Regions from separate parts of the Homo sapiens genome. Here all the other regions are linked to region 2. Evidence: promoter capture Hi-C in 16 types of primary human blood cells and fetal thymus (Javierre and others, 2016). All regions are on one chromosome and are shown on one strand. The core of a region is centred on a gene start or on the middle of the fragment in contact, and the rest is flanking DNA. Distances in the headings are between cores, read along the strand shown.

Region 1 (3,772 bases), core at 256-2,755, 3.4 Mb before region 2:
TAAAAAAAAAATTAGGCATGGTGGCGCACGCCTGTGATTCCAGCTACTCAGGAAGCTGAAGTGGGAGAATACCCTGAGCCCTAGGAGATCAAGGCTGCAGTGAGTCAAGATCACGCCGCTGCAACGAGTCAAGATAACGCCACTGCACTCCAGCCTAGGCAACCGGAGTGAGATCCTGTCTCAAAAAATAGTAATAAATAAAAGTTAAAATTACCAGGTCTCGGACAATTTGTGGTAAGCATTGGGGATCCAACAGTGAACAAAAATACATGTAGACCCAGATATTCCCAAGCATAATAAATTGCAACGTTTATAAGTATTAATCTGATAGATTTATCTGACTTCCAAAAGATGTGACACATGAACTAAAGACTGAGCAGAAGATAACTCAGATAACTAGATAACGAGGAGATAAGTAGATGAAGCAGGAAAGAAATAACATTCCAGTCAAAGGAATGTAGAATTGCTCCCCTTTTCCCAGGAAAGTTAGATGCTTTCAAAAGTACTTACTGGTTATTTGCAAGACAAAATATTAAAATAATTAGGAAATAGTACAAATGAAATACAATTAAATGAAAAATATATTGTAGATGTGGTTAAGGGAGGAAGAAATCAAAATGAGCCATTTTGTTTGATTTTTAAAAAAATTTTGTGTTTACACATGAAAGAATAGGTCAAAATATATCTACAATGATTGTTTCTATGGTGGGATTATGGGTGATTCTTAATTTCTATCATTTTGACTTTTGTAATTTTCATTGCAATAATTTAAATATTACTTGAATGATTAAAAAAATCAAAGTTTGGAAAAATAATTGACTAGAGTTTCTAAAGTAGTTTTATTTTTTAAAGTAAAAAATAAAAAAACCAGAGATGACTTTAAAAGATTGCAGTGATGGGCCAGGCACAGTGGCTCATGCCTGTAATCCCAGGAGGCCGAGGCAGGCAGATCACGAGGTCAGCAGATCGAGACCATCCTGGCTAACACGGTGAAACCCCATCTCTACTAAAGAATACAAAAAAAATTAGCCGGGCGCAGTGGCGGGCACCTGTAGTCCCAGCTACTCGGGAGGCTGAGGCAGGAGAATGGCGTGAACCTGGGAGGTGGAGATTGCAGTGGGCCAAGATAGCGCCACTGCACTCCGGCCTGGGTGAAAGAGCGAGACTCTGTCTCAATAAATAAATAAATAAATAAAAAGATTGCAGTGATGGGCGGAGGGAGTAGAAAAAGAATAGTACAGGCATCAAGAGTGGAGCACTGCAGAAATATTTCTAAGCCACATGGCATCTATAATAAACTCCCTAAATACCATTTTTCCAAAATAAATTGGTAGTACTATCCTTTATAATTAAAAGTACTGACATCATTATGTGTATTTTGCTGTCTTTCAAGTTGTATAGGAGTAGGAAATGACAGTGCTGGTGGCAGAAGAGAAAACACTAGAATTTGATTAGAAACCCAAACCTGATTAGGTTCTACAAGAATGATTTTTAGAGGAAGATCAATAGTGCAGCTGGCCTAGAGATGACTGGAACCTTATTGTTTAGCCTCATTCTCTTCTACTCCACACCATCTTCTACAGGACATCACTGGTTGACTACAACTTTCTGGCACACAAATTAAGTACCTCACATAAATCACATATCTCACCTCAGGTTTGCCATTAGGGAAGATAGCACTGAGCCTATTATCTCAAGCACAAAAGTTCTAGGCACCTGACGGACTCATGTCGGCTTGGATTAGGTGAGGAATCAAGGATAACATGATTGACATCCTCTATTAGAGTCATGGTTAAAGCAGAGTGAAGAGTAGTTCCCCAAAAGAAAGCAGGGTGAGGCAGACAAAACAATAGGCCACATAGGGTGTTTGTGTTCTTCTGGATTCAGGTGTATGGTCCCAGCTGCGTTCTTCCTATAGAATCATTATCTTTCCAATCCTTACTTACAGAGGGTCACCTCCCCACATATCTGTGAAGACTTTCCGGATGGCCTTTCCTAGCAATTATTCCCTTTATACTGCTTCTATCACTTAGTCATATAATGTATCACACTGTTTTATTTTTAGATTTGTTAGTTTTACTCCTGGAGACAAGGATTCTAGAGGCAAGGTGCCCAGATATAAAGTTTTACTCCTATGCTTACTATCTGTGAGATGTCAGGCAAGTTACATAAACCCTCTAAGCCTAGTTTCCTCATCTCTGAAATAGGGTTAATAGTATTGCTTTCATAAAGTTCTTAAGAAGTTTAAATGAGATTTTATATATATATATAATATAATGTATATATTATATATATGAAGCTCTTAGTACAACTCTTAGCAACTTAATTGACATAACCTGAAATGAACTGCCTGGATGAATCTGTTTCCACCAAATTAAAGGGTGGGATGGGGAAACAAAGAATAACCCACAAGGTGGCAGTATTTGAATGTAACTTTAGAATCTTATGTTTAAAAGCATAGTCCACCAAAAAAATCTGAAATTCAAGGCAAATACTGGAGAAATTCAAGGTAAATTCAAAGCCTAGATGAAATAAGCAGAACTTTGAGATAAATCAAACTTATAAACTTAACAGGCTTAGTATTCTATTACAATCAGAACACTGAACTCCTAAAAGTCTTCCCTTTACGATGACTGAAAAATGTATCATTTGCCTTTCTCAGCCCATCTTACTGAGAATTGCTCCTATTCCTTTTCTACTTAGCTAAATAATTAAATCTGTGTTGTCACTATTAGAAAGAGAGAGAGAGAAGAAAGAAAAAGAGTGAGTTTGATACATAGTGGTTGGAGCCTTCTCTTCATGCCATAAATCCCTAGGACTGATAGAAAAGACATACTTAGGCCGGGTGTGGGGGCTCACACCTGTAATCCTAGCATTTTGGGAGGCCAAGGCAGGCAGATCACCTAAGGTCAGGAGTTTGAGACCAGCCTGGCCAACATGGTACAACCCCATCTCTATTAAAAATACAAAAATTAGCCGGGCATGGTGGCAGACACCTATAATCCCAGCTACTCGGGAGGTTGAGGCAGGAGAATCACTTCAACCAGGGAGATGGAGGTTGCAATGAGCCAAGATCACACCACTGTACTGCAGCCTGGGCGACAAGAGCAAAACTCTGTCTCAAAAAAAAAAAAAAGAAAAGAAAACATACTTAACATACTTAAACTTATCAGTGCATTGGAAAACAAGAACCTTGGCCATTGAAGGTCCAGAACTTATGAAGAGTCCTTGAAAAGTGGATAAGAGGCTAGATTGGGAAAAAGTAACAGCCTGTGGTGTTGTGATATATATATAGGTTTTCATCCACAGCTCTTGGCTCATAACTCCCATAGCCCTTGTTACAGTCATTTGTTATAAAGTTGGGTATGTTAGACCTCAGGAACAGGCCTCTGACCTTCTCCTGCCCTTCTTCCATAGTTTCCGCACCTTTCTGACTCTGGGTCTTAAGACCCTCCCACGAGAGAGTCCCACCCTATACCCTGCGGGAAGGAATGCTGATGTCCTGAAGCTTCCATAAAAATCCAAGAGGACAGAGTTCATGAGCTTCCAGATAGGTGAACACATGGAAATTCCTGGAGGGTGGCACACACAGGGAGGGCATGGAAACTCCACGTCCCTTCCCTCATACCTCACCCTACGCGTCTCTTCATCTGTATCCTTTGCAATATCCTTTTTAATAAACCAGTAGGCCAGGCGCAGTGGCTCACGTCTGTAATCCCAGCACTTTGGGAGGCCGAGGCAGGCGGATCACCTGATGTCGGGAGTTCGAGAC
Region 2 (3,471 bases), core at 729-3,228:
AAATACCACCAGAAAAAGTTAACAGCCGCACCAGAAAGACAAGAAAACAAGTCTACAGTTACCAAGTTATTTAAGAAGAATCCTACTATAAAAATACTCAAAAAAGTCACATGGCCTGTTCCCAACATTTAGCAGCTGTTGCTACTATCATATACTTATCCATCAGGCCAGCATGCAAGCCAGCCTTTAGCTCCTAACCTTCTCTTCTTCCCTCCCTCTATACATCTTAACCTCTACTTCAAACTTAAATTAACCAACTATCACAACAAGCAAAACTCCAGTACCCACACTTATTGGAAACCACAAAAAGTTGCTATTTTAGCTCAAAGCCAGAAATCCAATAGAAAAATTTCATAATGTAATTTTGCAAGTGTTAGTTCTTACCTGCAACGTAAATTTCATCTAGTTTTTCAGCAACTTTCTGTGGTAAACCAGCATCAAGCAATGTCTGAAAATTTTCTGAATGGATAACTGCAGAAGTAGTATCCATGGGCTCTTCAGTACCATTTCCATTAACATGTTCTGTAGCCATGTTTCCAGAGATCTGTTCAAACGCAATAAGCAAAATTAAACTAGGATCTTCAAAAAGAATACAAGACAATATGAGAGCCCCATCTTTACTTTCTCTACCATTTACTACACCAGCTAGCCTATACCTCCCTTTAAAAAAGCCTTACAGTCACTATCGCCTGACAAGCCAGATTTGGAGCACAGGGCACAGAAGGACCGATTCACCATATTCTTCCTCAGCACCACCCCTGACTCACCTGCTAACACTCCCTAGGAAAAACCATATTACAAATAGAGCCCAATCAGCACGGGTACGAGCCAGCGTGCCACATGCAGCTGTGCCCGTTCGGAAAATGAGGTGTGTGTGGAGAAAGCAAAACTGGGCTCCTCTCTCTCAAAGATAAACCCCCAAAGTGCGCGCTTTTCCCGCCTGCCGCTTATAGATCGGTAACAACAGCCAGCGAAGAACAAAGCGCTCATACAAGCCACCTTCCCACCACCCAATTTCTCCACCCTTTAACCCCGCACCCCAAAGCCCGCCCCTGACTCCGCACCCAGAGCGGCAGTCTCACCACTGCGGCCGCCAGGAGCCCATTAGAAACACGTGCTCTGCGCCTTCCAATGTCCTACAACTTCCTTCAACGGCAACCCAACGAATCCCAAACCAAGACGACCATCACTGGTTCCCAACATCAACCCGAAGCCGCGGTCGGAGCCCCCAGAAAGCTGCAGCAGCACAATCTCTCCCCTGAACACCGAGGCACCGGCGGCGCCAGGCCACAGGCTCTCCCCGCCCCCCAGCGCCGCCGTCTCCGCCGTGACACATGGCTCTCCGCCCCTGGCGCTCCCCGGGCGCCGACGACCCCCGGCCGCCCGCCCGGCCGAGACGTGACCCGTGGCGCGCTGTGCAGGTCCCCACCCCTTACCCTTCCGTGCAGTGACTGCGACGCCTGCCCGGCAACCCAGCAGCGTGAGGGCGTTCAGCGGACGGCTCAACGCCCGCGGGACCGTGAGCACCGCCCAAGCTCGCCGCACGGCTGCAGGACAAGACCCACTCCTCTCCGCCCACTCCCGCGCCGCGGCGACCGCCACGACAGCACCAACTCTGAAGCCGCTCGCGGTCCGTGCGGGCCACGGGACCGTGGAGGCGCCTCCTCCCAAAGCGCCGCAGACAAAGCCCGAACCGCAGCAGCACATGGAAAGGAGGAAGTGGCGGCGCGGGCCGCGGCCTACTCCCAGGCAGCCCCAGTCAACGTGCTCTTCTCCCCATTGGAATCCATTTTCCAGAAAAGCCGGTTTCTACCCGCGCCACCCTCCCCCAGCTCACTCCACAATGTCATGGAGCTCCCCTCCCACACCCAGGTTCTGGCAGTCGTTACCTCCCCGTTGGGCTGAGGCGGAGAAATCCTGTCCGATGGTATCGGGTTGCGGGAAACGCGTGCTCGCTGCTCCCTGTGTCCGGCGCGAGTGGAGCTGTTGTAAAATGGCGGCCGAAGCTCACGCCGCTGGCAGCAAACCCGATCCAGTTCCACTCGCCTCCGAGCGCGCTCCCGGTGCGCGCGCGCGCCCCCGCGTGACCCCCCCTTCCCTTCCCTTCCCTTCCCTCCCCTCCCTCGCGCGTCCGCTTCACTCACTCCCTCAGCCCCTGCCCTCCTCCAGCTCCTCCTTCTCCCCCTACCACCACCACCACCACTAGCCTCTGTCCGCCTTCTCTCGGCCTTTCTTATTCCCGCCCCCCGCTCCTTTACCCCACTGCTCCCACTCCCCTCTGCGGTCGCTCAGGCACGAGTGGCCGCCTTTCCCCTTCTGGCTCGCACGCTCCCTCACTCCCTCCCTCGCTCGCTCGCACTCTCGGCCCGGTCCCCCAGTCCCTGCCGAGTCGGCTCCTCTCTTTCTCTCTCCCGCGCTGACGTGACAACGTAGCCTACGCCTCGGGACGCGCGCCCGCGGGCTCCGCCCCCACGCCGCGCCGCCTTCCCCGCTCCTCACCCCTTGGGTTGGGGGTGGGGGAGGCACAAGACCCCGCCCTTCCGCTCCGACGGTGGCGGCCGAGGGGCCGAGACTGAATGAAAGGCCCGCCCCTTCCCCTCCCGACACTCCCCCTCCCTCTCCCCTCCAGGCGGGGCGGGCCGGCTCAGCGTGTCCCACTCGTTTTCCTTTGTCAGGAGACTGGCATCTCCCCACCCCGCCCCACCCCACCCCCTCCCCGCGACACCATGCGCACGCCACCCCCACCGAGCTCCCGCCCGCCCCATCCCTGCCCGGTCCGGGGCTGGCGGGGCAGAGTGCTGTGGGCGCTGAGTGCGACTGCCGCTTCCCGGAGGGCACCCACCGGTCTGTGCGCGCCCGGCCCCCGCCCCCGGCTCCGCGGCCGCGTAGCCGTTCCAGGCGGTGTCCACGCCGCTGCCACCGCCCCGCGCTCTCCTCCTCGGGAAGCTGCAGGCGCACGTGTCCCCCGGGGCGGGGCGAGGCAGACAATGGGGCCAAGGGGGAGGGGAGCGGCGCGGAGACCCGCGGACCTTTGGTCCGCCGGACTGGCGGTACTCGAGTGCGAGAGTCGCCCTTGGAGACTCGATCTCCCCAACTGGACAGTGGGCCCTCCTCGCAGCCGCGCGGCTCCGCTTTCACGGGAACCTTCGGCGAAGGGAGGGGCGCCCCAGGCTTGGACGCGGAAACCCCGGCTGCTTTTGAAGGGGGAACGGGGCTGGCTCCAGTGGAGCGAGGAGCGGCTCCTGCCTTGGGATGACACGAAGGCCAGATTTGGAAGCGAAACCGCCCGGTGGTGAAGGGTTGTGCAATACTCCGTTTCAGTCCCTGGCCTTTTAAGCAGTTAAGGGCTTCCTCCTGGCACAGTTTGAGCAACTTGAAACAGCACAAAGCTGCGTGGTTAGAACAACTTTGAGAAAAATGTCTGTGTTTCTTTTAAAAAAAACCTTGGCAACTAAATCTTCTGTGAAATGA
Region 3 (3,852 bases), core at 86-2,585, 3.7 Mb after region 2:
CATTCACTCAGCGTAATGTTTCCAGGGTTCATCAATGAAGCATATATCATCACTTCATTCTTTTTTATGGCCATAATATTCCATTTTCCATAGACATACAATATGTCCATAGACATACAATTCCATTTCCATATACATACAATATGTTGTATGTATAGATACAACATATTGCTTATCCATCAGCTGGGCATTTGAGTTTCTGCTTTGGGGCTATTAAAAATAATGCTGCTATGAATATTTGTGTACAAGGTTGTGTGTAAATGTTTTCATTCCTTTTGGATATTATATGTGGCAGTGAAATTGCTGGGTCATATGGTAACTTTATATTTAACCTTTTGAGGAACTGCCAAATTGTTTTTCAAAGTGGCTGCACCATTTTACCTTCCCACCAGCAATGTATGCGAGTTCCAATATCTCCACATCCTCACGAACACTTGTTATCTGGCTTTTTTGTTCTGACCATCCTTGTGAGTGTAAACTGGAATCACTGTGGTTTTAATGTGCATTTCCCTAATGACTAAGGATGTTGAGCTTCTTTTCAGGTGCTTATTGGGCATTTGGATATCTTCTTTGTAGAAATCTCTATTCAAATTATTTGCCATTTTAAAATCAGGTTATTTCCTTTTTATTACTGAATTGTAATTATTTAGATATTTCAGATACAAGTCCCTTATTAGATATGTGATCTGCAAATATTTTCTCCCATTGTGTTGTCTTTTCACTTTCTTAGTGGTGTTGTTTGATACACAAGAGTTTTTTATTTAAAGAAATATAATTTTCTTTTTTTTTTGGTTGCTTGTGTTTTTCTTTTTTTTTTTTTAAGAGGTACGATCTTGCTCTGTGGCCCAGGCTGGAGTGCAGTGGTGCTATCACAGCTCGCTGTAACCTCAAACTCCTGGGTTCAAGCAATTCTCCCACCTCCACCTCCTGCATAGCTAGGGCTACAGGCTAATTTTTTTTAAATTTTTTGTAGACACAGGGTCTTGCTATGTTGCCCAGGCTGGTTTCAAACTCCCAGCCTCAAGTGATCCTCCACCTCCCAAAATGCTGAGATTATAGGCCTGAGCCACCATGCCAGACCTGCTTGTGCTTTTGATATCATATTTAAGAAACCACTGCATATCCCATTGTCACGTTTACTAAGTTTCCAAGAATTTTATAGTTTTAACTCTTACATTTAGGCCTTTGATCCATTTTGAGTTAATTTTCTTATATGGTGTATGAGGTAGTGGATGGTATAACTTTATTTACTCATTTTTCTCAGGGCAGGGTATAGCCCCAGTGGATCGAGGTCAGAGCTGTGGGAAGGCCCCAAAGGCATTTGCTGAGGTCTGATTATGCCAGACACCTAGGTGGGACTCTAGTCATGCACAGCCTTGTGCTTTATGTTAAGGGTTTCACCCTATCTAAGAGCAACAGGAGAGAAGAGATCAGGTCTGTATATTGAAAACTCTGGCTGCAATGTAAGGAATGGGGTGAGACTAGAGACCTGTTAGGAGGTTACTGCACCAATTTGGAGGAGTTAATAGCTAAATAGGATATAGTGCCTAGTTAGGGAAGTGGAAAGATGAGAGAGAAATATTCTAGGAGGTAGAATGGATGAGAGACAAGACTGGATGATGTAAAGAATACAACCTTTGGTCAAAAACAAGGTATGAGTAAAGTCACTGGTTTTATTGAGCAGCTCAAACTAGTTCTGAAGGCAACTGTTCAGAAGGCGTTCCCAACAGCTTTTGAGCAATGCACAGCCTCCCATAAAACCTTAAAAAGTACATCTGTTAATGTGCACATTAGTCTTTGTTAGTCACGTTCACTAAATGCATTAACCTTACATATACTTCCAATTAAAAAAACACATAGGCTTTTCAGTATTTTGGCCTAGATTTTTGTTCAAATGAGTCCAAATGTGTGAGTGAGGTTTACCTGTTTTCTGATTCTGATCTATAAAAATGGGTGGTCTCAAAAGACCAGAAAGTTTATTCATAGCCAAAAATGACAAAAAGAGTTCTTATTCTCCCAAAATAGGAAATTTTGTATTCCTATAGTCAAAACAATAAACAATTTTTGAAATTAAAAAAGTTGAGAATCTTGAAATTCATTTTTTTCAGTAGAATAAAACAATAAGCAGCATGAAAACGTAAAGTGCTACATAAAAGCCCCACATTACATAAATTTTGAAAAGTTTATTGGCTTAAACAGTTACAGGTGAAACAGATTACGTATTTTTTTTTCAAGCATGCTATTTTAATTACCTTGATATCTCATCATGTGCTATGTTGGTCAAATAAAATGTCATGAGTTATCTAGATCTGAGGATTAAAGAGGAGTCCTCAGCCTTTACTTGCCAGAATATACATCCAGTTTTAGCTGTATGCTGGAATTAAGGAGTTAAAGTAGGGCTTTAAAGATAATAGTTTTCTGAAGAGGCCTTTCAGTGGGGCTTGGACAAAAAGGGCCCCAAAGACCAATTTTGCTCATTAACCTCACACTGGGGATCAGATTGACAACTTAAGGATTTTTAGGGAGCATATGTGAGATCAAAGGGAAGAAGAAAATGGTGCCCCTTTCAGATGGTGCTTCAGGTGCTAAAAAATATCCCAACACAAACAAGCAGGTGGCTAGCTGACAGGTGGGGGAAGAGATGCAAGTCAGATAGCAAAGGATCTGCACAGTGCAAAATCTTCTTGGCTTTTTATTTAACTTAGCAGTGAATGCAGCAGGATTGGCTTAAAGTATAGGTACACCCCATGGAAACATGCAATAAGATCACATCGATCCAGAGGCTGGCTCAAGTTTGACTGAGGGGAAACGGAGGGAAGGCTGTTCCTAGCACACAATCTCAGCAGAGGTTGAGGTGGTGGGGATTTCTTTCTTCTCATATGACGCTACCGTCGGTGACTTCTTACTAGGAGACCACTGAGCACTGAATCAAGGTTTCTAATATGTTTCAAATCAAGATTTTAGAGTGTATTTTCTTATGGCAATAGAGTTATAAAATGGTAACCTATGATTTTCCTCATATAATGAGATCTTCATAAAGTCCTTGAGCTTTTTAGACTTTAACAAATTCAGCTACAGATATAAAAAATAATCTGTAAACACCTTTAAAATGCGAATTTATTAAAGTTTAAGACAATTCTGTATTATATAATAGTGTACAATATGTTCTTATTTTAGATGTAGAAATAAAGGAAAACTGGCTCTCAGATGAAAACAGAAATTGTGTCTGACAGTTAATAGAACGAATGTCCCATAAACAGGAGTAAAAATTAAATTTTCCTTTAAGACGATTTTACAATTATTTCTCTTGTCCATAATTTCACTTAGTTAAAACCACATAAGGACTTTATGAATACCCTCCCCTATACTATTCAAGATATACATATGGGCTAACTTTCGTGGACCGATCTAGAACCTAAATACCACTTCCAACATTGTTTGACTTGTAAAAAAATTAACTTACAAATAACACTTTTGGAGCATAACCTATTTGAAAGCTTGGAACCACCTGTATTTAAAAATTAAATCTTCATTAACAACACCCTCAAGAGTGCCCTCAGTGCTGCGAACTGAACATGCTGAAGGCAATGTTTTTCTGTGATTATATGGTTTCACCAGCCATTATGATGATAATATTATCTACTAGAGTCTGTGGCGCTAGCTAGCACTAAGTTATATATTGATTTTTCCACTGAAAATTCTTTCTTGGGCTCTGACTAGGTGGACAATTCTAAGTAAAGGTTTTTCTAACTTCTATCACTGTTACTTGGGCCCTGAGGTTTTCTATTAAAATAGGACATGAAATATTTCAATATTATGCATATTCCTGGAATAATTAAAATTTATACTGAT
Region 4 (3,598 bases), core at 678-3,177, 3.4 Mb after region 2:
CTATAAGGCCCACTTAAGTTGGGAAAGATTAAGGTGAGTGAAGCAGCGTTCTTGAAGCAGTTACTAAACCAGAAAGGAGGTACACAGCAAAGATTGTTTCTGGCACTCGTATTTGGAAGAGAGCTCATTAGTCTTCCTTACAGTTGTAGAAAGGTGGACTTGGGTTATTTCAGACTTTTTTTAGTTTGACATTTTAGAACTGGTTCACGTTGCATACTGGTAACTAGCAGTGGTGATTAACTGCATTTTTAGTGGCGAACAAGAGTGAACTTAAAAGTCAAGGGAAATTTAAGTTTTTTGTTGTTTTTTTTTTCTTGAGACAGAGTCTGCCTCTATCGCACTCCAGGCTGGAATGCAGTGGCACGATCGATCTCTGCTCACTGCATCCTCCCCTTCCCAGGCTGAAGGGATCCCGCCTCAGCCAGCCTCCCGAGGCGCGTGTTACCACGCCGGGCTGATTTTTATATTTGTAGTAGACATGGGGTTTCGCTATGTTGCCCAGGCTGGTCTCGAACTCCTTGAGCTTGAGCGATCTGCTTGCCTTGACCTCCCAAAGTGCTGGGATTACAGGCGTGAGCCACCATGCCCAATTAAAGTTTTTGTAATTTTCAGCTTTTATTTTAGATCAAGGAGGTACTTGTGCAGGTTTGCTACATGGGTATATTTCGTGATGCTGAGGTTTGGAGTATGAATGATCCCATTCCAGGTAGTGAGCATAGTACCCAGTAGGTCCCCATCTCTCTCTCAACCCCCCTTCTAGTAGTGCCTAGTGTCTGTTGTTGTTCCCCACTATATCCATGTTGTACCCAGTGTTTAGCTCCCAAATTCACTTGTAAGTGAGAACTTGCGATATTTGGTTTTCTGTTTCTGCATTAATTCGTCTAGGGTAATGGCCCCCAGCTACATACGTGTTGTCACAAAGAACATAATTTTGTTCTTTTCTATGGCTGTGGGCAAACTTAAACACAACAAAACTAGATATGTGATATGAGGTTCATAACTGATTTTTATCTAGAAACTATATTTACTTTTGTGTTCTTGTCTTTGTAGGTTTTAAAATCAAAGATGGGAAAATCGGAGAAAATTGCCCTTCCCCATGGCCAGCTTGTTCATGGTATACACTTGTATGAGCAACCAAAGATAAACAGACAGAAAAGCAAATATAACTTGCCACTAACCAAGATCACCTCTGCAAAAAGAAATGAAAACAACTTTTGGCAGGATTCTGTTTCATCTGACAGAATTCAGAAGCAGGAAAAAAAGCCTTTTAAAAATACCGAGAACATTAAAAATTCGCATTTGAAGAAATCAGCATTTCTAACTGAAGTGAGCCAAAAGGAAAATTATGCTGGGGCAAAGTTTAGTGATCCACCTTCTCCTAGTGTTCTTCCAAAGCCTCCTAGTCACTGGATGGGAAGCACTGTTGAAAATTCCAACCAAAACAGGGAGCTGATGGCAGTACACTTAAAAACGCTCCTCAAAGTTCAAACTTAGATTTCAGATTTCAGTATGTGTGTAAAACATAATTTTTCCCATATCCCTGGACTCTTGAGAAAATTGGTACAGAAATGGAAATTTGCCTTGTTGCAACATACAATTGCAAAAGATGAGTTTAAAAAATTACATACAAACAGCTTGTATTATATTTTATATTTTGTAAATACTGTATACCATGTATTATGTGTATATTGTTCATACTTGAGAGGTATATTATAGTTTTGTTATGAAAGTATGTATTTTGCCCTGCCCACATTGCAGGTGTTTTGTATATATACAATGGATAAATTTTAAGTGTGTGCTAAGGCACATGGAAGACCGATTTTATTTGCACAAGGTACTGAGATTTTTTTCAAGAAACAGCTGTCAAATCTCAAGGTGAAGATCTAAATGTGAACAGTTTACTAATGCACTACTGAAGTTTAAATCTGTGGCACAATCAATGTAAGCATGGGGTTTGTTTCTCTAAATTGATTTGTAATCTGAAATTACTGAACAACTCCTATTCCCATTTTTGCTAAACTCAATTTCTGGTTTTGGTATATATCCATTCCAGCTTAATGCCTCTAATTTTAATGCCAACAAAATTGGTTGTAATCAAATTTTAAAATAATAATAATTTGGCCCCCCCTTTTAAAATAGTCTTGACTCTTTGTGTGTGACTGTTTCTCATGTTTGAATGTGTGACTAGGAGATGATTTTGTGTGGTTGGATTTTTTTGACTTCTACTTTACTGGCTGAGTGTGAGCCGCCATGCCTGGCCATAATCTACATTTTCTTACCAGGAGCAGCATTGAGGTTTTTGAGCATAGTACTTGACTACTCTAGAGGCTGAGACGGGAGCATCTCTTGAGCCTGAGAAGTGGAGATTGCAATTGAGCTAGGATCAGGCCACTGCACTCCAGCCTGGGTAACAGACGCTGTCTCAAAAAAAAGGCCAAGAGAAAGTAAGGGAGACAGATTTTGAGTGGGAATGTTAAGCAATCAGGTCAAGTAAAGAAGATCGAATATACAAAGGAACTTCTGTTTGATGTTTTGTGTGAGTCACCATTCCTTCCTTACAAATGCAGATACACCTTCCTCACAAATGGAAGGGAAGCTCATTTAGAAGTTTAGTTTGAAGATGCCCCCAATTTTTAGTCACCAATTTTAGCTTTTGTTAGTAATGTGTTGTAAATATTAATACTAATGACTGACTACAGTGAGTTCTGACATCTCTCCCAAATCAGTTTGTGATTCTAGAAAGGGACACATTAACAGGTTTTAACAACACATTTTTGCACATGGTTATAAAAATTCCTACACAATGTAATATAAGTCCTACCGCCTCAACCACCCTTCTTTCCTTGTCCAACATTTCTCAGCTCTTGTCATTTTGAGCAGTATGTCTGCAGTTTAATGTGTGAGGGCTTATGTGTAACGTATGTTCAGGAAATAGAAGGATAAATGGCAGAGCTGAAAGTTTAGGTGGGATGGGGAGAAAAGACAAATATAACTAAAATACAAGCTATATTCCCCACTCTACAACAACAAATGCCTGAAGAGAGAAAAAGGTAAAGTCTCTTAGGGTGAAGGGACTAATTTTGGTGAGAAAATTTTCTCTTTGGGAATCTGACACCTTAGAAAGTAACAGTGAGTTGAGCTGGGCATGGTGGCTCACGCCTGTAATCCCAGCACCTACGGAGGCTGAGGCGGATGGATCACGAGGTCAGGAGTTCAAGACTATCCTGGCCAAGATGGTAAAACCTTGTCTCTACTAAAAATAGAAAAAAATTAGTCGGGCTTGGTGGCAGGCACCTGTAATCCCAGCTACTCAGGAGGCTGAGGCAGAAAATTGCTTGAACTCGGGAGGCGGAGGTTACAGTAAGTCGAGATCGCGCCACTGCATTCCAGCCTGGGTGACAGAGCAGGACTCCATCTCAAAAAAATGAAAAAAAAAATTGAGTTGAGCCTTAAAAGATAAGTATTTGACACACAAAAAAGGAAAAAAATTGTGAGGTAAAAGTTTGAGCAGATGGTGGTGTAAAAAGATGCACAACGCTGAATCCCAGCACTTTGGGAGGCTGAGGCTGGTGGATCACCTGAGGTCAGGAGTTCGAAA
Region 5 (3,645 bases), core at 737-3,236, 3.3 Mb after region 2:
TCGCCCCACTCGGCACCGCCCCGCCCCGCCCCGTCCCGCTCCACGGACGCGCCCGGACGCTACTGGTTCGCCTTTGCGCATGTGCAATTGCCCTCGTACCGAACTCCGCAGGACGAAGCGTGTATTTTTTTCCCATCCAGACAACCTAGAGAAACCCAAAAAAGAGGGAAGCCAAGCGCCTTTCCATGCGTAGATTGCCCGCCACTTCCGTTAAGGCATCTATTTTACTGATGAAAAGAGGCCTTCTGAGCGTTACCACAGCTCAAGCTTGGCGTCCCAGCCGGATCTAGGTTTGATTTGCAATTAGGGAAAGTTGTTCAAGGGAACAAGTCTTAGGAGAATTCTAAGGACATGAGATTGGAGTACCAGAAATGGGGAATTTTTCTTTTGGTGAGTACTTACGAGGATCTATGAAGCTTCTGAAATTAATTCCAGAACACTTAGAGTTTTGTTTGTACATTTCTGGATCAAAGTTTCAAAGCATACTGGGGAGTTTGAGAGGGTCCATGTCTCCAAAAAAAGTTACTAATTAATGTGGTATAATTGACAAAGGTAGGAATTGATCAGTGGAGAACCTCTTCGTGGCGTTGTTCTCCTTGGCCTACCAAATAAACAGTGCCTTTTATTTTCCCTTCGAGTTAAGCAGAGGTGCTTGAAAAATTTTTATAAATGCCGTCCTTTAACGAGCCTTTCCTTTGTTACCAGATTAAAGTGTTAAATATAAAGCTGGATGATGGCGAATCAATTATAATGTAGTTTGGCTTTAAACACCAATGCTATATTGGAACTGCAAGAACGTAAGGCTGCAGGGAATACATTTTTAAAGCGTCGGTGGGGAACTTTCTGGGACGCTCAACCCCCTGAATGCCTGGACCCCCTCAGTAAGAGTCCCATCAATAGAGGCAGTCCAACAGCAATCTCTCTGAGGCAGCCTGAGTTAGGTCACACTTCTGGTCTGTCCTGCTGTTGCATCTGCTCAGAACTGTTAGTGAAGGTGTAAACTCCTCCCCTGACAGAACAAGATAATACCCAGTTTCCTTTAAGGCCATCAGTCTACCCAAATAATCTCCGATGAATTCCCTTTTCTGCTGATAGAGTGTGTACCATGCCCAAAGTGGTAAAAACCTTCCATCCCCAGACCCCCTCCAAGGATGGGAAAGGTGAGCCTGATCCTGGAAGAGTATCTTACCTTCCCCTTCTGGGGATGACTCCCCTTGGTGACTCCCCTTCCCACACACGCTATACCCAGTAGCTCAGTCCTAGGCACACAGAAGCTTCATACCACTGGCGAGCAACTGTTATTGGCTGTAAGGCAGCAATGTGCACTGGATTTTTATTCTGCTATCCAGTTATGCCCTCTCCATACTCATTGCCACAGAATTGGGAGGACCCTGTGGCTACCTTTTGTCCACAATAGAGAGTAGAGTAGGAGAGTGGCATCCCGATGAGCAGGCAGTTTCTCTCTGCCTGTCAGGAATGCCTTGCCTGATGTGTGTTTCTGCCTATATTGCTCCTAGTCCCAAGTTTCTACTACTCTGTGAGAAGAAAAATAGATGCTCACAGACAGACCAACATGATTCCTCCCCCGCTTCCTGGAACCCCTGACACCCTCCCAGATATGTCTTGATCTCCTCTTTATCAGATGTAGATTCTCTTCATTGGTGAGTCTTTCATCAAACATCCATTTTGCCCATAAGGAAGAGTGTGTACATGTAAAAAATAAGATTGAACGTTCTCTTTTGGCAAAAGAGAGAGATCTTATCTGTCTTCCCTTTTCCTAGGACTTTTCCTTGAGAAAAACCTATATTTATTAATCCTTCCTCTTCACTTTGATATGTAGATAAATCTTTTGTTTTTGCAGACAGGGTCTCACTTTCTCACCCAGGCTAGAGTGCAGTGGGCATGATCAGGGCAGCCTTACTGGAGCCTCAACCTCCCAAGCTCAAGCAATCCTCTCACCTCAGCCCCCAAGGAGCTGGGACTACAGGTGCAGGCCCCCACACCCCACTAACTTTTTTATACTTTTTTCGTCTGGAACTCCTGCAAGCAGCCCTCCCACCTCAGCCTCCCAAAGTGCTGGTAAGACAGCCAGGTGGGAAGGATTCCTTGGCAGAATCTCCTTTTGACCTGAGCACTGGGAGGAATGCACCCTGTGGTGGAGCCTTGGGAAATTTGCGCCATTTGCAGTGGGGAGGAGCCTGGCCCCTCCTTTTCCTAGGTGGAACCTGGGATTCAGTCTACCAGGCAGGAAGCACTCTGGCTTTGGGGAGAGTCTCTGTTTCCCTTTTTTTCTTTTTGCCCAATAAATTCCATTCTCACCCTTCAAGGCATCTGTGAGCCTAATATTTCATGGCCATGTGACCAGGACCCAGCTCTTAGCTGAACTAAGGAGAAAGTCGTACAACAGCTTTGGCACCCAATGTGGGGCTTGAGAAGCGGTTGAGTGACACGGGGACTCAAAACTTTTCACTGTCATTTCTAAGCCTTTTCATGCGTGGACTTCTGAGGGTAGGGAAACCATGCCCCCACTCCCATCGCTCCCTGGGGTCAGGGGCCTTTCCATGGCCTTTGCCTTCGTTTTTTGGGAAGGATAGGCAAGTCGCAGCTCCTCATTCCCTCTCCCCTCCCAGCTGGGGCTGGGGAATGCCACATGTCCACAGCATCTTCCCCTTCCCTGGCCAAGGCTCAACTCCATCTGATAAGCTTCTCTCCCTGGTAGAGGAACCATTTGCCTAAGAATAAAAGGTTTATTCCCCCAGGCATCCTTTTTTCTTCACCCCATCAACAGTTAACTTTTAAACCAGATGTTTTTTTTCTTTTTCACTAGGCTAGGAATGATAAGGATCCCTGTTTATATTCTCCTTAAAGTTTGGTTGTGAAAAAGGATCTTATGGGGACTGGTTTTCTTCTGCCTGTCTGTGTAGCTATATATATGTTGTGTACATGATGTCTATGAAAAGAGCTCAAAGGCCAGGCACGGTGGCTCACACCTGTAATCCCAGCACATTGGGAGGCTGAGTCAGGCAGATCACCTGAGGTCGAGAGTTCAAGACCAGCCTGACCAACTTGGAGAAACCCCATCTCTACTAAAAATACAGAATTAGCCAGGCATGGTGGCACATGCCTGTAATCCCAGCTACTTGGGAGGCTGAGGCAGGAGAATCACTTAAACCTGGGAGGTGGAGATTGCACTCCAGCGTGGGCAGCAGGAGCAAAACTCCATCTCAAAAAAAAAAAAAAAAAAGGAGCTCTAAGGCCAGGTGTGGTGGCTCATGCCTGTAATCCCAGCACTTTGGGAGGCCAAGGCAGGCAGATCATTTGAGAGTCAAGAGATTGAGACCAGCTTGGCCAACATGGTGAAACCCTGTCTCTACTAAAAATACAAAAATTAGCCAGGTGTGGTGACGTGCCTGTAGTCCCAGCTATTTGGGAGGCTGAGGCAGGAGAATCCCTTGAACCCAGGAGGCAGAGGTTGCATTGAGCTGAGATTGTACCACTGCACTCCAGCCTGGCCAACAGAACAAGACTCTGTCTCAAAAAAAAAAAAAAAAAAAAAAAAAAACTCTAATTGGCCTAAAGGAAGACAAGTGCTTAGATCATATATTTTTTAAAGGGAAGGTAAAAGATGTGGTACCTTTCAGTTCA
Region 6 (3,927 bases), core at 698-3,197, 3.5 Mb after region 2:
ACCTCCACCTCCCAGGTTCAAGTGATTCTCCTGCCTTAGCCTCCTGAGTAGCTGGGATTACAGGCGCCCGCCCCAACACCCAGCTAATTGTTGTGTTTTTAGTAGAGATGAGGTTTCACCATGTTGGGCAGGCTGGTCTCAAACTCCTGACCTCAAGTGATTCGCCCATCTCGGCCTCCCAAAGTGCTGGGATTACAAGCGTGAGCCACCACGCCTGGCCTGCAAAAGCTTTTAACTTATCTCAGACCTAAGTCTGTTTCCAATTCATCTTCCAAATAGTCATCAATTATTCTTGTAGAACAAATTTCTGATCTTGTCTCTCTCCTGCTTAATAACATCCAATAGTTTAGCCATTGTCCAAGTTTTATTTTACTTTGAGACAAAAGTCTCACTCTGTTGCCCAGACTGGAGTGCAGTGGTGCAATCATGCTTACTGTAGCTTTGACCTCCCGGGCTCAAGCGATCCTCAAACCTCAGCCTCCAGAGGAGCTGGGACCACAAATGTGTGCCACCATGCTTGGCTTATTTACTATTTATTTTATTTTATTTTATTTTTTGTAGAGTCAGGGTCTCCCTATATTGTCCTGGCTGGTTTTGAACCCCTGGGCTCAAGCTATCCTCCCACCTCAGCCTCTTAAAGTGCTGGGATTACAGGCATGAGCCACCAAAACCAGCTAAAGTTGTAATTCCTTAGCAATGTGTTGTACACTTCCTCTATGTCCCTTCATCCCCAATCAAATTCACCTTTCTGCTCACCTACTCTCTTAGTTGTCTGCTTTCTGCCATATGACAACCAGCTCTTCCAACACCTTAGCCCAGATTGATTTTACATGTGCTATCTAGTGCGTGTTACGTGTTTGTTTCAGCTAGAGAAGTTTCTGGAGTTAACCAAGTTTGCATGTGTGTCTGGGGATGCTTAGGAGAATGTTGTAAATGACCAGTATACCAAAGTGACACTGTGATTTGCTTCTTCTCCATGCTGGCAGCAGCAGTCCTCAAATCGTGCAGTGGCCAGCATTTTGTTCAGGAGAAAATTGCTGTAGTTCCAAGTATTGTTAAACTGAAACGATGTAGGCTGGATTCACATGCACTTTTGGAAATATCATATATTTTGAAGGTATTATAAGTTTGATTTTTTTGGTGAAATATCTGCACTCTCTCCTTGGATTAAATCATTTTTGCACTTTTTATTCCTTTCCCCCACAATTATTATTATTATTATTATTTTTTGAGACGGAGTCTCGCTCTGTCACCCAGGCTGGAGTGCAGTGACGCGATCTCGGCTCACTGCAAGCTCCACCTCCCGGGTTCACGCCATTCTCCTGCCTCAGCCTCCCGAATAGCTGGGACTACAGGTGCGTGCCACCACGCCCGGCTAATTTTTTGTATTTTTTAGTAGAGACGGGGTTTCACCATGTTAGCCAGGATGGTCTCCATCTCCTGACCTCGTGAACCACCCACCTCGGCCTCCCAGAGTGCTGGGATTACAGGTGTGCGCCACCGCGCCCGGCCCCCCACAATTATTTTTGTTTGTTTGCTTTTCATTCCTGAAATCCTGCACTGAAGCTCTCTGGTACTTCTATTTACTTTTTCTCTACCTTTAATTTTCTTCATTTTATTTTTCATTCCATTCCTTTTTCTGTTTTCAAAAACTTTTTTTTCTCATTTAGCTCATGCTTTGCCATGAGCTCATGCTTTGCCATGTTGGGGATTTTATTTTATTATTTCTATCTTAATTCAAAGAATATAAACCATACAAAAGCCTGCTGCCTTTTCAAAAGGAGTTCTGAATCTGAAGCCCAAAATAATACCCAGTATAGTTGTACAATTTGGCTGTATTTTAGTTGCTTTTCCAGGGTAAAGGAAATTTTTGATCTACTCTTTCCACCACAGCACTCATTTGTCATGAATGTCCTGTTCTCAAAGTTATTGAGTCAGTTGTGATGACAGCTGGTTTTCTAAGCAGCCAGGAAAGAAGAGGAATCTTTATATATTTTTTCCCCTTTTTTCTCATCAGGAGCCAAGAAAGAACATTTATATACTTTAAAACCAGTCCTCAAGAGAGAACTATCTGCACTCCTCTCACCCCCCCAAAAAGGTTATACATCTTAATACTAAATTCTGGATATTGTATTGTTTCCTCAGATCCAGCACCAGCTAAAGGAAGGGAGCTTGTATACATTTTTTTTTGTTTCTAATAAAAACATACAGGTTCCTTACCAGTAGCACATAGATAGGGTAGACAGTTGTATGAATATTATGGGTACAAATGAAAGTAATAGTAAGAATTTATGAGCTGACCAGATTCTAGAAAGCCACATGTCCAACTCCATCAGCTTCCAGAAGCAATTCTTCCTGCCCCCAGCTCCACATAAAGGACTGAGAAGTCTAGGAAGAAGCATAACAATGTCTATTGGTAGTCAGTGTCGTTTAATGGTTAATTGCTGCCATTATTCAGTTAGTTTATTAGATTCAAGAAGAATAATCAGCCAACAAATATTTATTAACACAGAGGAAATGCTGACCATAAGATGTTAGGTGCTGGGGAATGCAGTGGGAAAACAAAAGAGTTTAAAGCCTGGAGGGGAAGATAAACGGTCAGCAAGTTATCACAGTTTATCAAATAAATGAATTCAAGGGTGCAAAATACCATGAGCAAGAAATACAAGGTGTCAACAGTAGAAACTGAATACATACGTGCCTGTGGGCATGTATACCCACCCACCCACCCACATATATACACAAGGAACAGAGCTTGAAATGAATCTGTCTTTCCTCTACCTCAAGTGGCAGCTTTGTTAATTCCTGCAAAGCAATATAAATAGCAGCTTCTATATGAAATTATATGCATCCCTTTTCTGTTGCTGTTTATTGATGCCTGAGGAGGGCAAACATGGGTTCTACTGATGTCAGCAGGCAGAGTTGCTGCAGTAAAATTTATTCAAAATGAGTGTTGTGGGTTCTGATTTGAATAGATAAACTGGAGATGCATTTATGAATTTGCATGTCTGTTTACACAAGCAATAGACCATGGTGGCTGAAAGTCAGCCACTGGAGGCTGACTCTGGCTTCTGTTCTACAGTGGGTCCACTACTTACTAGCTCTATAATCTTGGACATACATCTGTAAAATGAAGATAAATAACCACATTAACCACCTCATAGTTTGCTGTGAGGATTAAATGAGTTAACAAATGCTAAGCCCTTGGAACAGTGCCTAGCACAGAGTAATTGCTCTACAAATGTCACCTATTGCTTTTGCTCTCCAATCCCCCCTTCTCCCCTTTTTTTAGCCAACTAACTGAGCAGGATAATATTGGATCTCGTGGATACAGGGTAATTTTCTTCAGCAGAATACCAGAGAAAGATTTATTATCGCCAAGGGGGCCCAGGAATTTAATAACACATTTGTTGTTTTTAGAGCTGAGTTTTTGTTGGAGTGTTAACTGAGAAAGAAAGTTTTCAGACGTGAATGGAATGTGACATTTACTCTGGTATTATTAGCATATAGAGTAGTAAAAACAGTAGTTGATAGTCTTCGTGCATGTTAGCTTCCCTTAGACTTATTTTCAAAATATTCATTTGGTTTATCACATTAATATATTGTGTCCCATTTAACATAGTTGAGACAAATTAAGGAAAGATGATAGGGTATGAAGAGCTGATAGAAGCTTTTAATATGTGGAAAACCTCAGAATATAAACATCTACAGTGTTATTAATAGGCATACCGTCAACAACAGTTTTTCAGACTTTGTGGTTCACTCTGGAGAAAAACAAGAGCATGACATCTTGAATTTCTTCACTGGGTAATTAAAAAACTCAGTTATAATGTAACACCAGCTGCACATATCATGTTAGTGGAGTTCAGCATCAATTAAAATTATAAACGAAACCTGTCATATGTTCCCTTTCAAAGCTGTTCAAGA
Region 7 (4,045 bases), core at 1,102-3,601, 3.4 Mb before region 2:
AGAAATAAAGAAACCCTAAAATCATTTCCAGAAAGTCAAGGTCCTTTGGAAAACAAAAAAATTATAAGCTAGACAAGCTCTAAATATTTACACATACCCTAGACCGCTCGGAATTTTGTAAGCACAATATAGCTATCAAATAAAAAAAGTAATGCAAAGATTATTATCTCATTTAGCTGTACCACAAATACCTAAAAAGTTTAAAAATAAAATCCAAATTTGTATTTTAAATTTACAAGTTGTCAGTGAAATTCATTTTATGAAATAAGAAAGAATACATTTCATTCAATTTTATATTAAATATTAGAATGCCATCCTACAACTGCTGACTTCTACTACTAAACAACAGTTGCAATACTAGACAGTTTTAAGTTATCCAACTTTAAAAACCCCAGACTTTTTTTTTTTTTTTGAGACGGAGTCTCGCTCTGTCACCCAGGCTGGAGTGCAGTGGCGCCATCTCGGTTCACTGCAAGCTCTGCCTCCCGGGTTCACGCTATTCTCCTGCCTCAGCCTCCCGAGTAGCTGGGACTACAGGTGCCCGCCACCACGCCTGGCTAATTTTTTATATTTTTGGTAGAGATGGGGTTTCACTGTGTTAGCCAGGATGGTCTCGATCTCCTGACCTCGTGATCTGCCCGCCTCAGCCTCCCAAAGTGCTGGGATTACAGGTATGAGCCACTGCGCCCAGCCTAAAACCCCTGAATTTTTAAATAAGAACTGAGCATGGATTTTCGCTTTTAATTATCTGGAATATATAATACTAACATTAATAATCTCTGTCTCATGGTAGTTAATTAATTTGGTACTGTATAATATAGAATCAGCCCCTTTTCAATAACAAATGGGGCTCTCTATATAACTGGTACTCAATTAATATTCCCATACTTGCTTTCTCTTCCCTGACTGAAATTTATACTGATTTCTTTCCTTCAAACCTACCCACTGTGCTTGCTTCACCCTCATTCTGTGGTAAATAAAATCCCTTAGATCCTTAATACCTTCACAAAACACGCCCACTGCCTTGCCTTACCTGAAATGTGGCTTTCTCTTTGAGTACACTAGTTCACTCACAACCCTGGCAAATGGAATATGCTCAAATATTCCAAACTATATATTTCTTTGGATCAGACATTTCAATCACCCTCTGATTTCCTAATGCCATCATGATTCCCTCACTCTTGTCTTTAAAATCCCTGCTCCGTAACAGCTCATGAAATAAAGGTATATCATGTACTACCTCAAAAAAGGAAAAACAGGTGTCTTTCTTGTGCCACAATTCCAATCAATCATTAGTGGCTGCTAATGGTTGGATTATCATTTTAAGGAGGAGTCTGAGGACCCACTCAAGCTCAGCATGAGAAAAAAAAAACTGACTAGCATGTCTGCAAAAAGCTCTAGACTAGGTGAGCAGCTTGTACACTTGCTGCCCCTGCTCTGATTTCTCACCATCTTGCTCACCCCTCTCACATTCACTAAAGACTTGGACACCAAGCTTGATTCTCGCCCATCACAAGTCCTTTCATTATCCTAAGTTCCCTCCACATCTACAGAGAAGACCCACAAGAATATTAGCTTTCATGACACCATTCTACTCCCTACTTCTCTAGCCACTTTTCATTCCTATATGGGTTTTTATTCCTGTTCTCTCAAAATTTAATATTCTCTAGAGTTTAAGGATTCTATTGCTTTTTTTGTTCAATTGCTGGTTGTGATGCATTAGGTTGTGACTTTTAGTTTAAAAAATAGTGTTCTATGGAGCCCTAAATATAGTGGTCATATTATTTATCATGCAAACATTTTTGAGAATGAAAGGGGATACTAACAATTACACTAGGAAAATAATCATAAACCAGAACTGTCCTGGGCAAACTAGGGATATGTTGTCAAAGTAGCTCTAAAAACTGTCTAAGAATTCAATCTCAGGATATAAACTAAGTGTTGTTATGTATGTCATATATAAATAATAGGTGAAAGTTGGAAAGAGCCAGTACTATAGTGATAAAAACACTCCAAGCTCATATTCTGGATCAAAGAAGTTTTATGAACTTCAAAATGCAGAAAGAATATAACTAGGAAGTTGTAGGAAATGTAAGTTGAAATGGTAATTTAGGAAGACTGAAAAAGTTCTTACATTCCAAGCCACAGAGTTTGGACTTTATCCAAAGGTGACTTAGTAGATAAACACATAATTAGCTCTTTTTTAAGACAAATAATTCTGGAGAAGAATATTATTGGGGTTGAAATGAATGGAGCCAAAAAGTCAAATTAGGACACTGTTGTCACTGTCCAAAAAAAGAGCTTGAAAAGGACATGGCACCTAGGTTCATGAGACAGAAAAGAACTAAATAGACATGCTCTGAGGTATCATCTTCAGGATTTAGAATTTGAGATTTATAACATTAAAAATTGAATAGGGTAGTTTAGGAGTGGCAAAAATAACACTTCAGACATTCTAAATTTAAATATCTTGAAAGAATACCCACAGTACAACTGAAATAAAGTTCAAGAGAAAGACTGGGGCTAGAGATACACATACATACACACATATACACAATGTAATACAGAAAGATTTGTCAACAGTAGCTGTATCTGGGGAAGTAGAAGATATCATGCATTGTAAGGATATAAGACCACAGACCAAATCTTTACAATTGTATCTATTAAAATTTTACAATTACTTACATTTAAGAACTCAGGTTCACAAAAAGCATCACTCGTGCCTAAGCATCTAAGGGCAAATTTTTGAACCCCACACTTCCAAAACATTGCTTATCTGTCTCCATAAGTGATGAAATTTTAGTTCTATCTACTATCCAAACTGAGAACTGAGACTTAGACATTTAATTATTTATTGCTTGTCAGTGTGAATACAAATAATTAAATAGAATGACTGGCAGTTTACCAGACCCTCAGTTAAAAAACTCTATAGCCTTTCCAGACTGCTGTCATCCAACTTCACATAAGATTAAACATATTCTCTTCATGATAAATAGCTTGGAACCTAAAAACATTATTTTGTTACAAAAAATTGCAAGAAGTGTGTTGTTTTCTAAATTGAAATTATTTTATTTTTTAATGCCACCAAAAAAAAAAGAACTGTTGTTCACTTATCAAAAATAACACTGAGCTTCAACAACAAATTCACTTGAGAAACAGCTTACAGAATTGTAATGTTTGTTAAATAGAAAAGCTAGAAAATCAAGAGAAGCTTTACCCTCTTAAATTAAACTACTATCTGTATAACATTTTCTAATTTCTAACACTAATTGCACAAATATCTTATATTTTAGGGTATTTTACAAAGTCTAAATATAATTAAGGCTAACAATATCTAAAATAAAATTAGCAAAGTTCTATTGATTGATTTCCTCATTAAAATGTTACTGTACCTGAAACAAAGTTATGTAATCCACATGAAAAGCTGAACAATCAAATACAAAAGTTCTTTCTCATCTCTAAAAGTATATAGATTGTACTTCAAAAATACCTGCTTGATATAAATCCCACTCCTGGAGAACAGATCCACCAACTCTGGATGATGTTTGCTATTCTGGCTTCCATGACCCAGGGTAAAATTTGTATTATCGCCCCAAGTATAAACATCTGTAGGATCTAAAATAAAAATTAGTTTTTATACTTTTTTATATTTTAAAACACATATAAGAACTAATTTAACTACAATATTTAGAAAGATGCCAACGCTCTTCTCTGAATGAATATATTAATATGATATTAGGTAATTCTAGAAATAGAAAATCCAAATCATAGTACAGGCCTGTCTCAATGCAAGCAATCAAACATTTGTTCCTTGCTTCTTTTTTTTTTGTTGTTGTTTTTTTTTAATAATTGAGACAAGGTCTCATTATGTTGCCCAGACTGGTCTTCACCTCACGGGCTCAAGTGATCCTCCCACCTCGGCCCCCCAAAGTGCTAGGATTACAGGCATAAGCCACTCTGCCCAGGCTGTTTCTTGTTTCTTTAGCAGCTAAAGTTTAACTGCCAAATGAGTAAAACACCACCGGCCATATCTACTTAGTTTCCA

The links. Contacts are between HindIII fragments. The CHiCAGO score rates a contact against its expected background, and 5 or more counts as called.
Region 1: a fragment that was not itself captured here is called in contact with the fragment with the promoter of SYNCRIP in region 2 in 3 of 17 cell types (total CD4 T cells, monocytes and fetal thymus); the score reaches 8.1 in total CD4 T cells.
Region 3: a contact is called between a fragment that was not itself captured here and the fragment with the promoter of SYNCRIP in region 2, in 1 of 17 cell types (neutrophils). The highest score is 5.9, in neutrophils.
Region 4: a contact is called between a fragment that was not itself captured here and the fragment with the promoter of SYNCRIP in region 2, in 7 of 17 cell types (activated CD4 T cells, monocytes, naive CD8 T cells and 4 more). The highest score is 22.3, in activated CD4 T cells.
Region 5: a fragment that was not itself captured here is called in contact with the fragment with the promoter of SYNCRIP in region 2 in 3 of 17 cell types (non-activated CD4 T cells, fetal thymus and M0 macrophages); the score reaches 8.9 in non-activated CD4 T cells.
Region 6: a contact is called between a fragment that was not itself captured here and the fragment with the promoter of SYNCRIP in region 2, in 2 of 17 cell types (non-activated CD4 T cells and total CD4 T cells). The highest score is 5.9, in non-activated CD4 T cells.
Region 7: a fragment that was not itself captured here is called in contact with the fragment with the promoter of SYNCRIP in region 2 in 3 of 17 cell types (monocytes, total CD8 T cells and non-activated CD4 T cells); the score reaches 10.5 in monocytes.

What each region holds. Positions count from the first base shown.
Region 1 is chr6:82,249,716-82,253,487 of GRCh38, forward strand. No RefSeq gene overlaps it. Among named protein-coding and RNA genes, the nearest start is that of IBTK, 3.9 kb to the left of the region's middle. The HindIII fragment of the contact is 4,001 bases long and covers 1-3,506 here.
Region 2 is chr6:85,640,908-85,644,378 of GRCh38, forward strand. It overlaps SYNCRIP (synaptotagmin binding cytoplasmic RNA interacting protein), which reads right to left and starts at 1,979. Exons shown (of 11, transcript NM_006372.5): 1 at 1,890-1,979; 2 at 385-544. The coding sequence starts at 532. RefSeq lists silencers at 1,029-1,078, 1,299-1,448, 2,039-3,058. The HindIII fragment of the contact is 3,992 bases long and covers 1-3,471 here.
Region 3 is chr6:89,324,972-89,328,823 of GRCh38, forward strand. UBE2J1 (ubiquitin conjugating enzyme E2 J1) reads right to left here. Exons shown (of 8, transcript NM_016021.3): 8 at 1,654-3,852. Among named protein-coding and RNA genes, the nearest start is that of GABRR2, 12 kb to the left of the region's middle. The HindIII fragment of the contact is 4,319 bases long and covers 1-3,495 here.
Region 4 is chr6:89,082,703-89,086,300 of GRCh38, forward strand. PNRC1 (proline rich nuclear receptor coactivator 1) reads left to right here. Exons shown (of 2, transcript NM_006813.3): 2 at 1,051-2,458. The coding sequence ends at 1,494. Among named protein-coding and RNA genes, the nearest start is that of PNRC1, 3.8 kb to the left of the region's middle. RefSeq lists enhancers at 1,805-2,332, 2,333-2,859. The HindIII fragment of the contact is 4,237 bases long and covers 1-3,598 here.
Region 5 is chr6:88,963,741-88,967,385 of GRCh38, forward strand. No RefSeq gene overlaps it. Among named protein-coding and RNA genes, the nearest start is that of RNGTT, 1.9 kb to the left of the region's middle. RefSeq lists a silencer at 1-175. The HindIII fragment of the contact is 1,429 bases long and covers 1,273-2,701 here.
Region 6 is chr6:89,141,446-89,145,372 of GRCh38, forward strand. LOC101929004 (a long non-coding RNA gene) reads right to left here. Exons shown (of 4, transcript XR_942766.4): 2 at 2,302-2,388. It also overlaps a transcript of PM20D2 not described here. Among named protein-coding and RNA genes, the nearest start is that of PM20D2, 2.6 kb to the right of the region's middle. The HindIII fragment of the contact is 3,442 bases long and covers 227-3,668 here.
Region 7 is chr6:82,228,228-82,232,272 of GRCh38, forward strand. IBTK (inhibitor of Bruton tyrosine kinase) reads right to left here. Exons shown (of 29, transcript NM_015525.4): 4 at 3,491-3,615. Among named protein-coding and RNA genes, the nearest start is that of IBTK, 17 kb to the right of the region's middle. The HindIII fragment of the contact is 1,716 bases long and covers 1,494-3,209 here.